Linked DNA regions of Homo sapiens: all the other regions are linked to region 1. The links are contacts of gene promoters, found by promoter capture Hi-C in blood cells and fetal thymus (Javierre and others, 2016). All regions are on one chromosome and are shown on one strand. The core of a region is centred on a gene start or on the middle of the fragment in contact, and the rest is flanking DNA. Distances in the headings are between cores, read along the strand shown. Region 1 holds the start of FCRL5 (Fc receptor like 5). Region 2 overlaps FCRL1 (Fc receptor like 1). Region 3 has its middle 23 kb from the start of CD5L.

Region 1 (3,017 bases), core at 401-2,900:
TTTATTCAACAGATTTTTGGAATGCCAATCATACTCCAGAGCAAGGCAATAGAAATCCAGGAGTGTGTGAGAGACAAATCATCCCTGTCCACATGAGGCTATTGGAGACTTATCCAAACTTAAGTGTTTTACTGAGAACAACAAATTATTCACCATTCACCTGAATATTTTGGCTTCCTTCATCTTTGCATTGTTTTAAATGAAGCTAATATTTTTGTGAGTGGTTTCTATATGGTCTGCATTTACGTAGGTTATTTCATATAACCATGTCAATAATCCTGTGAGGTAAGCACTAGGATTAACTGCATTTTGTAGACCAGGAATCTGGTAGCCAGTAGGTGGCAAGATGAAGTTTGAACCTAGATCCTGTTTGACCCCAGAGCCCATGTTATAAACTTTGCCCTCTCATGCTCAGGACCTGGCCATTACCCACATTGTGTGGGGCCACACTGAGATGTATTCCTACTTCAGGAATTATAGTCCATGCACCTTCCAACTGTGAGGTCCTCTTTTCTTATATCACGCCTGCTCCATTTCTGCTCCTCTAGCTCCTACTCACCTCTAAGTTTCATGAAGTCTTTACTAGCTATTTTGAATACAGTTTATTATCTGCCTACAGCATTCATTGGTAACTTTGCCTGGACAATTATTTAACTGGGAGCTTGTTGCATAGCTGCTTGAAAGTACATTGGCCTTGCTGGGAGCCCTTCTATGTCATGACTTTCCAGAACATAGACGTAGTGTCTCCTATGGACTCTAATTGCTCAGCACCTGTGCATAGATATTACTAAACACATTTGCTGAACAAATAAATAAACATATTTAATTATAATATTTAACCTTTAGTAAAAATCAACCAGTTCGCACATATGAGTTGATAGAGACTTACGTACACCCACAGGGACAAAGAGAAAGTCATATGCTTTAGATTTATCCTTGCTTTGTCCACCTACGCCTCTGCGACCTCCTCCACCCCATGTTCTTAATCAGCCAATTGCTGCAGTGGTTTGCAATTATGTACAAGAGAAAGACCTGTCTTTCCCGTTAGAAACCTTGCCTCTTATGCTGGGGACCAGGATCTGGCCTTGTCATACAAGGAATAAATACATCTCCTCTGCAGAGAGGAGAGTGGGCTCTTCTATGAGTAAGACAATATGAACAAACAAACATGAAACATTCTCTGGACTTTAAGAAGTACTTTTTAAAGAAAAAAATAAATGAAATTTTAATTGTTGTGGTTATTGTGGTTTCCTACTCTGTAAGATTGAAAATTCCTTCCAGCTGTGGCCATTTTCTTCAGCCTCAAGAGAAAGCCCTGAGCTACAGAGTAAAGTTCAAAAATACAGTCTCCTAATGTAGGAGAGAGTCTCTCAGCAGGGGCTGAGCCCCAAGAAAGGACCAGGCCTGCGGTGGAGAGAGAAGCTGTCCCGATCCCACCCAGGGCCCATGGTGAGCCCTTTTACTCACCCAGGACCAGTAATATCACCCACAGCAGCATGAAGACCTGGACCACCAAGGGCTGAGATCAAAAGAGAAGTTTCCTCAATTCCAAAACAGGTTTGGACTTGATCTTACAGTCAGGACACTGCACACCAGCTCCAAGGAGCACATCTGAGAAGCTGTGCTCTCAAAAAGAGCAGAATGCATTAGTGAATTGAAAAAAGGAAGTGGGAGTACCCGTCTTCAGCTGCTAATCACAGTTTCCTACCCGATGATCAAAGAAAAAAAAAAGTTAAGGTTTTAAAAAATCAAATACCCTTGACCCTACATTTTTGCTATTGGGAAATTACCCTGAAGGAAGTATCTGAAGAGAGTACTATAAGAACGTTTATTGTAGCATTCATTATTGCCTAAACACTGGAAACAAAACAAAAAACCATGATATGGGGACTGTTTAAGAATATTCTGATTCATCCGTATGGTGACAAGCAATCATTAAAGAATAAGGTAAATCTGAACATGCCAAGAAGGGAAGACCACCTTGTTTGATGTGAAGAGAATAAAAGTGAGATATAGATTGGTTTTGTAGTATTATCCCATTGGGTAAATATAAAAAATAGGATATATGTGTACATCAACTCTTTTAAGTATACTTTCTTCTTTTCCTGGAAAGTACACACAAAAATATTGATTATGTTTGAGGAGCAATAGGTGGGAAGAACACAATTTATTTTATGTATTTCTGTACCGTTTGATTTTTTAAAAAATTACCAGGTGAATGTATAGCTCTTATGATTTTCTAAAAGTCAAGTTTCCATCCTGGTATACTGGTCAACAGAGGTTCCTAAGACATTAGCTGCCACGAGGAGTGCCAGTTTCTTTCTTTCAAATATTTTCTCACCCTTTCTCTCTGGGCCCATACCTTGGTCTTCCTAAGGGGGCATTTAATTTTATATCTACAAATGCACATCACCTTAGGTATATTATGTCACATCTGACCCACTGCACCCTGAGGCAAGAAAACCATACAGGGGTTACAGGGGTGAATAGAGATTAAGAGGAGAACTTCAAAGGGAACACAGAATCTTTACCTACTTTTGGTGCTAAAACAAATAGTGCTGCTATGAACATTCTTGTATACATTTATTGGGGCATATGCGCACATAATTCTGTTGGGTATATATCTGGGAGTGGAAGTCCTGGCTCATAAGGTATGCATATATTCAGTTTAGGAAGTATTACCAAATTATTTTCCAAAGTGGTTGTGCCAATTCCCACCACACCCACCAACCAATGTATGAGAGTTATCATTGTTCTAAAATTCTTGCTGATATTGGTATTGTCATCTAGTAAAATCTGGCCGTTCTGCTAGAATTATCTCAATGTGGTTTTAATTTGTATGTCTCTGGTGAATTTGAGAATGAGCATTTTTTCATAGTCTAATTGGTGATGTAGATATCCTTTTTATGTGCAATCTCTGTTCAAATATTTCCTCATTTTTCTCTTAACTTTCAGTCTTTCTTTTCCTGTTTTGTAGTTATTTTAAACCCTGAATATAAACCTTTTGTTGGATATAT
Region 2 (3,452 bases), core at 774-3,273, 260 kb after region 1:
ATTTGTAGTTGTGATCTGCTTCCCAGTATCTGAGCCTTTGGAAAGCCCTTTATCCTTAGAGCCATGATAGTGCTGTATCTTGACCCCCAGGATCAAAGTCACAGGTACAACCTTGCCTGTTGGGCCTGAGATACTGGGGAGTGCTTCAGAGTCACATTCTTTGTCTTGGTGGAAGAGCTGTGTCCATCTATACCTAAGACAATGAACCTGCATCCAGGCACAGATGCCATAGTAGTGGCACTGTGTGCAGGACACTGAGTGCAGGACCACAACCACCTCAAGCATCTGTGCCCTGGAACATAGTACTACCATGCCTGCCTGTGACCCATGCCAGGGCCAAACACCAAAAGACACCCTCTCAGGTATGATGGTCTATGAGGAAAAGAACAGGAAGATCCCTAAAGCTCTTGCCACTGAGAACTGTAGCAATCTATCTTGCCACCACCACCCTCACAAACTCCTACAGCCTAGGCCACTGAGGCACACACAAGCATTGCTGACATTGATTGCTGCTGAAGAAGTTACACAGAGACCACACTACTATGCTCACCTGGAACCAAACCAATGAAACTTCCTAAACTAAGGATCCATCGGCACCCTAGGATCAATCTGCAGGTGAAAGTCTTTTCTTACAAAAGCCACTCTATAAAATTGAAAAAGGTGACTCTTCCACCAGATGCACAAATGGTAAAGCAGGAACACAACAAACATGAAAAAGCGAGAAAACATGACACCAATACAAGAACAAAATAATTTTCCAATAACTAACTGGAGATTTATTAATTGCCTAAAAAATTCAAAATTATAATCTTAAGGAAACTCACTTATAAGAGAATACAGATGAAAAGTTCAATAAAATCTGGAAAACAATTTATGACCTAAACAGGAAATTTGAAAACATATAGATATCATGAAAATAATCCAAACAGAATTCATAGAGCTAAAGAATTAAATGCATGAAATAAAAATTACAATTGAGAGTTTCAACAGCAAACCAGATAAAGAAGAAGAATTTCTAAACTTGAATATAGATCTTTTGAAATAACCCAGTTAGCTGAGGAAAATTTTTTTTCGAAAGTGAAGAAAGCCTACAGGACTTATGGGACACCATTAAGTGGGCAAATATTTGTATTATTAGAGTACTAGCAGAAAAAGATATAGAGAAGGTTTTGGAAAGCATATTTGATAAAATAGTAGCTGAAAACGACTCAAGTCTTGGGATGGATATGAACAACCAAATCCATGAAGCTCAAAAATCCCCAAATAGATTTAACCTGAAGAGGTCCTCTCCAAGGTCATTATAATCAAATTGTTAAAGGTCAAATACAAAGAGAATTCTAAACACAGCAAAAACATCAAGTCATACATAAGAGAATTTCTATAAGAGTATCATCAGATCTATCACCAGAAATCATGCAGGCCAGGAAAGAATAAGATGATATATTCAAAGTGCTGAAAGAAGAAAACTTTCAGCAAGAATACTATACACAGAAAAGCTGTCTTTCAGAAATGAAGGAGAGATAAACTCTCACCCACACAAGCAAAAGCTGATGGAATTCAAGACCACTAGACAAGCCTTAAAGTAACTGCATAAGAGAGTGTTCCAGCCAGAAGTGAAAGGACAATAATTACTCCACGAAAACATGTGAAAGTGTACAATTAACTAATAGAGGTAAATTGATCATTAAATTCAGAAAATCTCATTACTGTAACGGTGATTTGTAAATCTTTCAAATATCTACTATGATGGTTAAAAGTCAAAATGGTCAATAATAACTATAGCTGTGATAAGTTGTTAAGAAATACACAATACAAAATATGTAACATAAGGCAACAAAAATATAAATAATGGCGGCAATGGTAAATGTCTAGACCAAAGTTAAGCTGTTATCAGCTTAAAGTACTCTATTATAACTATAAGATTTTTTATATAAGCCTCATGGTAACCACAAAGAAAAAACTGACAGCAGATACGTAAATGGGAGAGAGAAAGGAATCAAAGCCTAGCACTACAAAAAATCCACCAAAACACAAAGATAAACAACAGGAGAGAAACAAAGGAATGAAAGATCTACAAAACAATTAGAAAACACTCAACAAAATGGCAGGAGTTAAGTCCGTACCTATCCATAGTAACCTTGAATGTAAATAGATTAAATTATTCAATTAAAAAATATAGAGTGGCTGAATGGATTTTAAAAAACAGGACCCAACTATATTCTGCCTACAAGAAACTCTACCTGTAAGGACATACATAAACAGAAAGTAAAAGGATGAAAAAGAAATACCATGAAAATGGAGAACAGGAATAGTTATGCTTATATCTGATATAATAGAATTTAAGTCAAAAACTATAAAAAGACACAAAGAAGGCCATTGTATAATGATAAGGGGGTGAATTCATCAAGAAGATATAACAATTTTAAACATATATACATCCAACACTAGAGCACCCAAATATATAAAGCAAATATTATTAGATCTAAAAGGAGATATAGACTGCAATATAATAATAGTAGGGGACTTTAATACTCCACTTTCAGCAATGGAAAATCATCCAGATGGAAAATCAACAAAGAAATATCAGATTTAAACTACACGCTAGACAAAATAATCCTAATGGACATTTATAGAACATTTCACCCAATATCTGCAGAATTCACATTTTTCTCAACTGCACATGGAACATTCTCAAGGATAGATCATATTTGAGGAAGCAAAATGTCTTAACAAATTTAAAAAGATTGAAATTATATGAAGTCTCTTCTGACCACAATGGTATAAAACTTGAAATCAATAACACAAGGTACTTCAGAAACTTCACAAATACATGAAAATTGAACATCATGCTCCCAAAGAACCAATGAGTCAATGAAAAATAATTCAAAGAGAAATTTTAAAATTTATTGAGGCAAATAAAAATGGAACCACAACATACAAAAATCTGTGAAATATAGCAAAAGCAATTCTGAAAGGGAAGTTTATAGCAGTGAATGCCTACATCAAAAATAGAAGAAAGATCTAAAATAGGTAACCTAACGTTTCACCTCAAGGAACTAGAAAAACAAGAACAAACTCCACCCAAAGTTAGTAGAAGGAAGGAAACAATAAAGACTGTGGCAGAAATAAATGAAATAGAGACTAGAAAAACAATACAAAAGATCAATGAAATGAGTCAGTCTTTTAAAAAGATAAACAAAATTGACAAACTAGCTAGACTAAATAAGAAAAAGGAGAGAAAATTCAAATAATAAAATCAGAGATAAAAAGGGAGCATCACAACTGACATCACAGATTATAAAGGATAAAGGATTATAAGAGACTATTGTGAACAATTATATGCAAACAAGTTGGTAACTTAGAAGAAATATACAAATTCTTGCACACATATAACTTCTCAAGATTTAATTGTGAAGAAATAGAAAATCTGAACAGACCAATAACAACTAAGG
Region 3 (3,113 bases), core at 125-2,624, 310 kb after region 1:
GAGAAAGTTCCCACTGTAATCAGACAGGGACTTTAATAGAGTAGATAGACCAGATAAAGGGTAGAAATTTATGCCAAGCTTTGCTTAGGTACACTGAAACTGAAGAGCTGGTGGGACATCCCTTCAGATGCTGATTTTGTATAGAGTTTTAAGAGTTTCTTGGCTAAGAAGTTAACCTGTGCCCACTGCTGGGATTCAGCTAACTGGCATTTCCAGCGGAGTGATGAGACAGAAGTCTATTTACACACTTTATTCCTCTTTATGATCTAAATACATGTTGTTCTCTCTGTTGTTTCATTCTTCTTCATTTTACCTTCACAGAACTAATTAGTCCATGTAAAAAAGGAAGACAAAAAATCACTAAGGATGTAGAAAATGAACAGTACTATCAATTAACTTTACTTAATATTTATATAACACTACATTCAGCAAATGTAGAATGTATATTTCAAGTGGATACAGAATATATTCAAGACACATTCATTTTATGGTCCGTTAATTAAGTATCAAAGGATTTTAACCAAATTTCCTGCAAAGGAGATTTGTAGGAAACCTCCGCCTCCCAGGTTCAAGCAATTCTCCCTGCCTCTCAGGCTACCAAGTAGCTGGGATTACAGGTGCCTGCCACAACACCTGGCTAATTTTGTATTTATGTATTTATTTAGACAGAGTCTCGCTCTGTCGCCCAGGCTGGAGTGCAGTGGCGCGATCTCGGCTCACTACAAGCTCCGCCTTCCGGGTTCACGCCATTCTCCTGCCTCAGCCTCCCAAGTAGCTGGGACTACAGGCGCCCACAACCACGCCCGGCTAATTTTTTGTTTTTTGTTTGTTTGTTTGTTTGTTTGTTTTTGAGACGGAGTCTTGCTCTCTCTCCCAGTCTGGAGTGCAGTGGCATGATCTCTGCTCACTGCAAGCTCCGCCTCCCGGGTTCACGCCATTCTCCTGCCTCAGCCTCCCGAGTAGCTGGGAGTACAGGGGCCCACCACCACACCCGGCTAATTTTTTTGTATTTTTAGTAGAGACAGGGTTTCACCATGTTAGCCAGGATGGTCTCCATCTCCTGACCTCGTGATCCACCAGCCTCGGCCTCCCAATGTGCTGGGATTACAGGTGTGAGCCACTGCACCCGGCCAATTTTTTGTATTTTTAGTAGAGATGGGGTTTCACCATGTTGGCCAGGCTGGTCTTCAACTCCTGACCTCAGGTGATCCGCCCACCTCAGCCTCCCAAAGTGCTGGGAATACTGGCGTAAGCCACCTCACCAGGCCCACAGTTCTTAATAATGCATGGATCAAAGAAAAAAACCCAAGGTGAATTAGAAATTAAAAACACGTGTCAAAAACTTGTGGAAAGCCACTAAAATGGTACTAAAAGGAAATTTCACAGTTTTAAATATGTATAAACAGAAAAGATTGCTAGAATTTATTATCTAAAATTCTACCTTAATGTAGTAAAAATTCAAGTAAACCCAAAATAATAGAAGAACGGTAACAATAAAGATAAGAGTTGGTATCAATTAAATAGAGCAAAACAACAATAGAAAATAATAGTAAATCTAAAATTGTTTGTAAAGATAACTAAAATTAATAAATCTCCAGCAAAATCAAAAAAGAAAATATTCACAAATTACTAATGCACTATCATACTAATGTAAGAATGCCCAGAGCTATGGATGTAAAAAGGATAATAAGGAATCATTGTGAACAACTTTATGTCAACAAATTCCATAACCTAGATGAAATAGGAAAGGTCTTCATTGTCCACAGCCACACTCTGTGTGGCCAGTGTCCACCTGCTGCTTCTTTCTTTTGGGCAGCATTTTTGTGGCTTCTTCAGAGATTTCCCCACCGGGATCTTTCACTTGCGATTCCCTGACATTGATGAAGCCTGCTATAGCCAGCTTACTTAGAACATTCCCCTTATCCCTTGACTGCCAGCGGACTTCCCCTCAACATGCCCTCTGCTGAAGTCACCTCATCCTGCATCCTTGTGGACAAGGTCACTTTCAAGATGATCCAGTCTGGTTCACAGTGAACCATAGGAAACACGCGCCTTTCCTGCCAAACTCTGAGTGAGCAGGTTATTCCTGATGCAGTTTCATCTTTGCATTCTGTTATTACAGGGGGGTTCATCCAGTTACTCACATTTAGACCCTTTCAAATGTAAGTCAGATACCAGTACCAGGGCCTTCCCAACTCCAAAAAGAATGCGGTCAGCTTTGTAAGAGATTTTCTGTAACCTCCATCATTTTGTTTGAGAGAAGAGGGTGGAAGATGACATAACATATACAAAACTCTCTTAAAAGTAATTCCTTACTACCAATCTATTCTTAGAAAATTCTTGTCCTCTTAAAAATCTAGAGGCTTATATGGCAAAAGGCAGTTTTCCAATCTCTTAGCATTTCCGACACAAATGGTCTATGATGTATTTTCTTGCACATTTGGTCTGGTACTTATTTTTCTAGGTGTGCCAAAACCTCAATACTGCACAGAATAAAAATCACAACTAAAATTTTATGAGAGCAGTATATATTTTATTAATTATAAGGAAAATATAGGAGAGTATTACACCACCTCCACCCACAACAAATGCCAAAATAAATACTCATTGAACATTTTGGTTCTCCCTAATGTTCTCCTCCACAATGTGATATAAAACTAGCATTGACCCTAAGCTTGACAAACAGATGATAGATAGGTAGGTAGGTAGGTAGATGATACATAGATAGATAGATAGATAGAAGATAGATACTGTGGTAGATAATTTTTCATCAGCTTTAATTGCCACTCATGATAGATTGCAGAAATAAAAACAAATCTATTCCTTCATGATGTGCAACATCTTTGCAGCTTCTCCCTTCAAAAGATGGAATTTTTCTTCACTCCTAGAATCTGGGCTGCCTTAATAACTTGCTTTGGCCAATAGGATGGTAGCGGACATGTTGCAAACAGAGCTGTGAAAAGCATTTTCCCATTTAGGGCTTGCCTTCTTGCTGCTCTGGGAAGCTCTGCTGTGAGGTGAACAAGCCCAAGCTAGCTACTGAATGATGAGAGACATGTTGCCCACCACCTGTCCCTGTCACCCCCAGCAGAGGTACCTAACTGTCCTACAGC

The links. The method cuts DNA at HindIII sites, captures the fragments that hold promoters and counts their contacts. A CHiCAGO score of 5 or more calls a contact.
Region 2: a fragment that was not itself captured here is called in contact with the fragment with the promoter of FCRL5 in region 1 in 1 of 17 cell types (total B cells); the score reaches 5.7 in total B cells.
Region 3: a contact is called between a fragment that was not itself captured here and the fragment with the promoter of FCRL5 in region 1, in 3 of 17 cell types (naive B cells, total B cells and M0 macrophages). The highest score is 6.8, in naive B cells.

Annotation. Positions count from the first base shown.
Region 1 is chr1:157,550,865-157,553,881 of GRCh38, forward strand. It overlaps FCRL5 (Fc receptor like 5), which reads right to left and starts at 1,651. Exons shown (of 17, transcript NM_031281.3): 1 at 1,468-1,651. The coding sequence starts at 1,498. The HindIII fragment of the contact is 25,493 bases long and covers 1-3,017 here.
Region 2 is chr1:157,812,491-157,815,942 of GRCh38, forward strand. All of the region lies in intron 1 of FCRL1 (Fc receptor like 1), which reads right to left. Among named protein-coding and RNA genes, the nearest start is that of FCRL1, 5.9 kb to the right of the region's middle. The HindIII fragment of the contact is 5,444 bases long and covers 1-3,452 here.
Region 3 is chr1:157,862,976-157,866,088 of GRCh38, forward strand. No RefSeq gene overlaps it. Among named protein-coding and RNA genes, the nearest start is that of CD5L, 23 kb to the left of the region's middle. The HindIII fragment of the contact is 2,596 bases long and covers 77-2,672 here.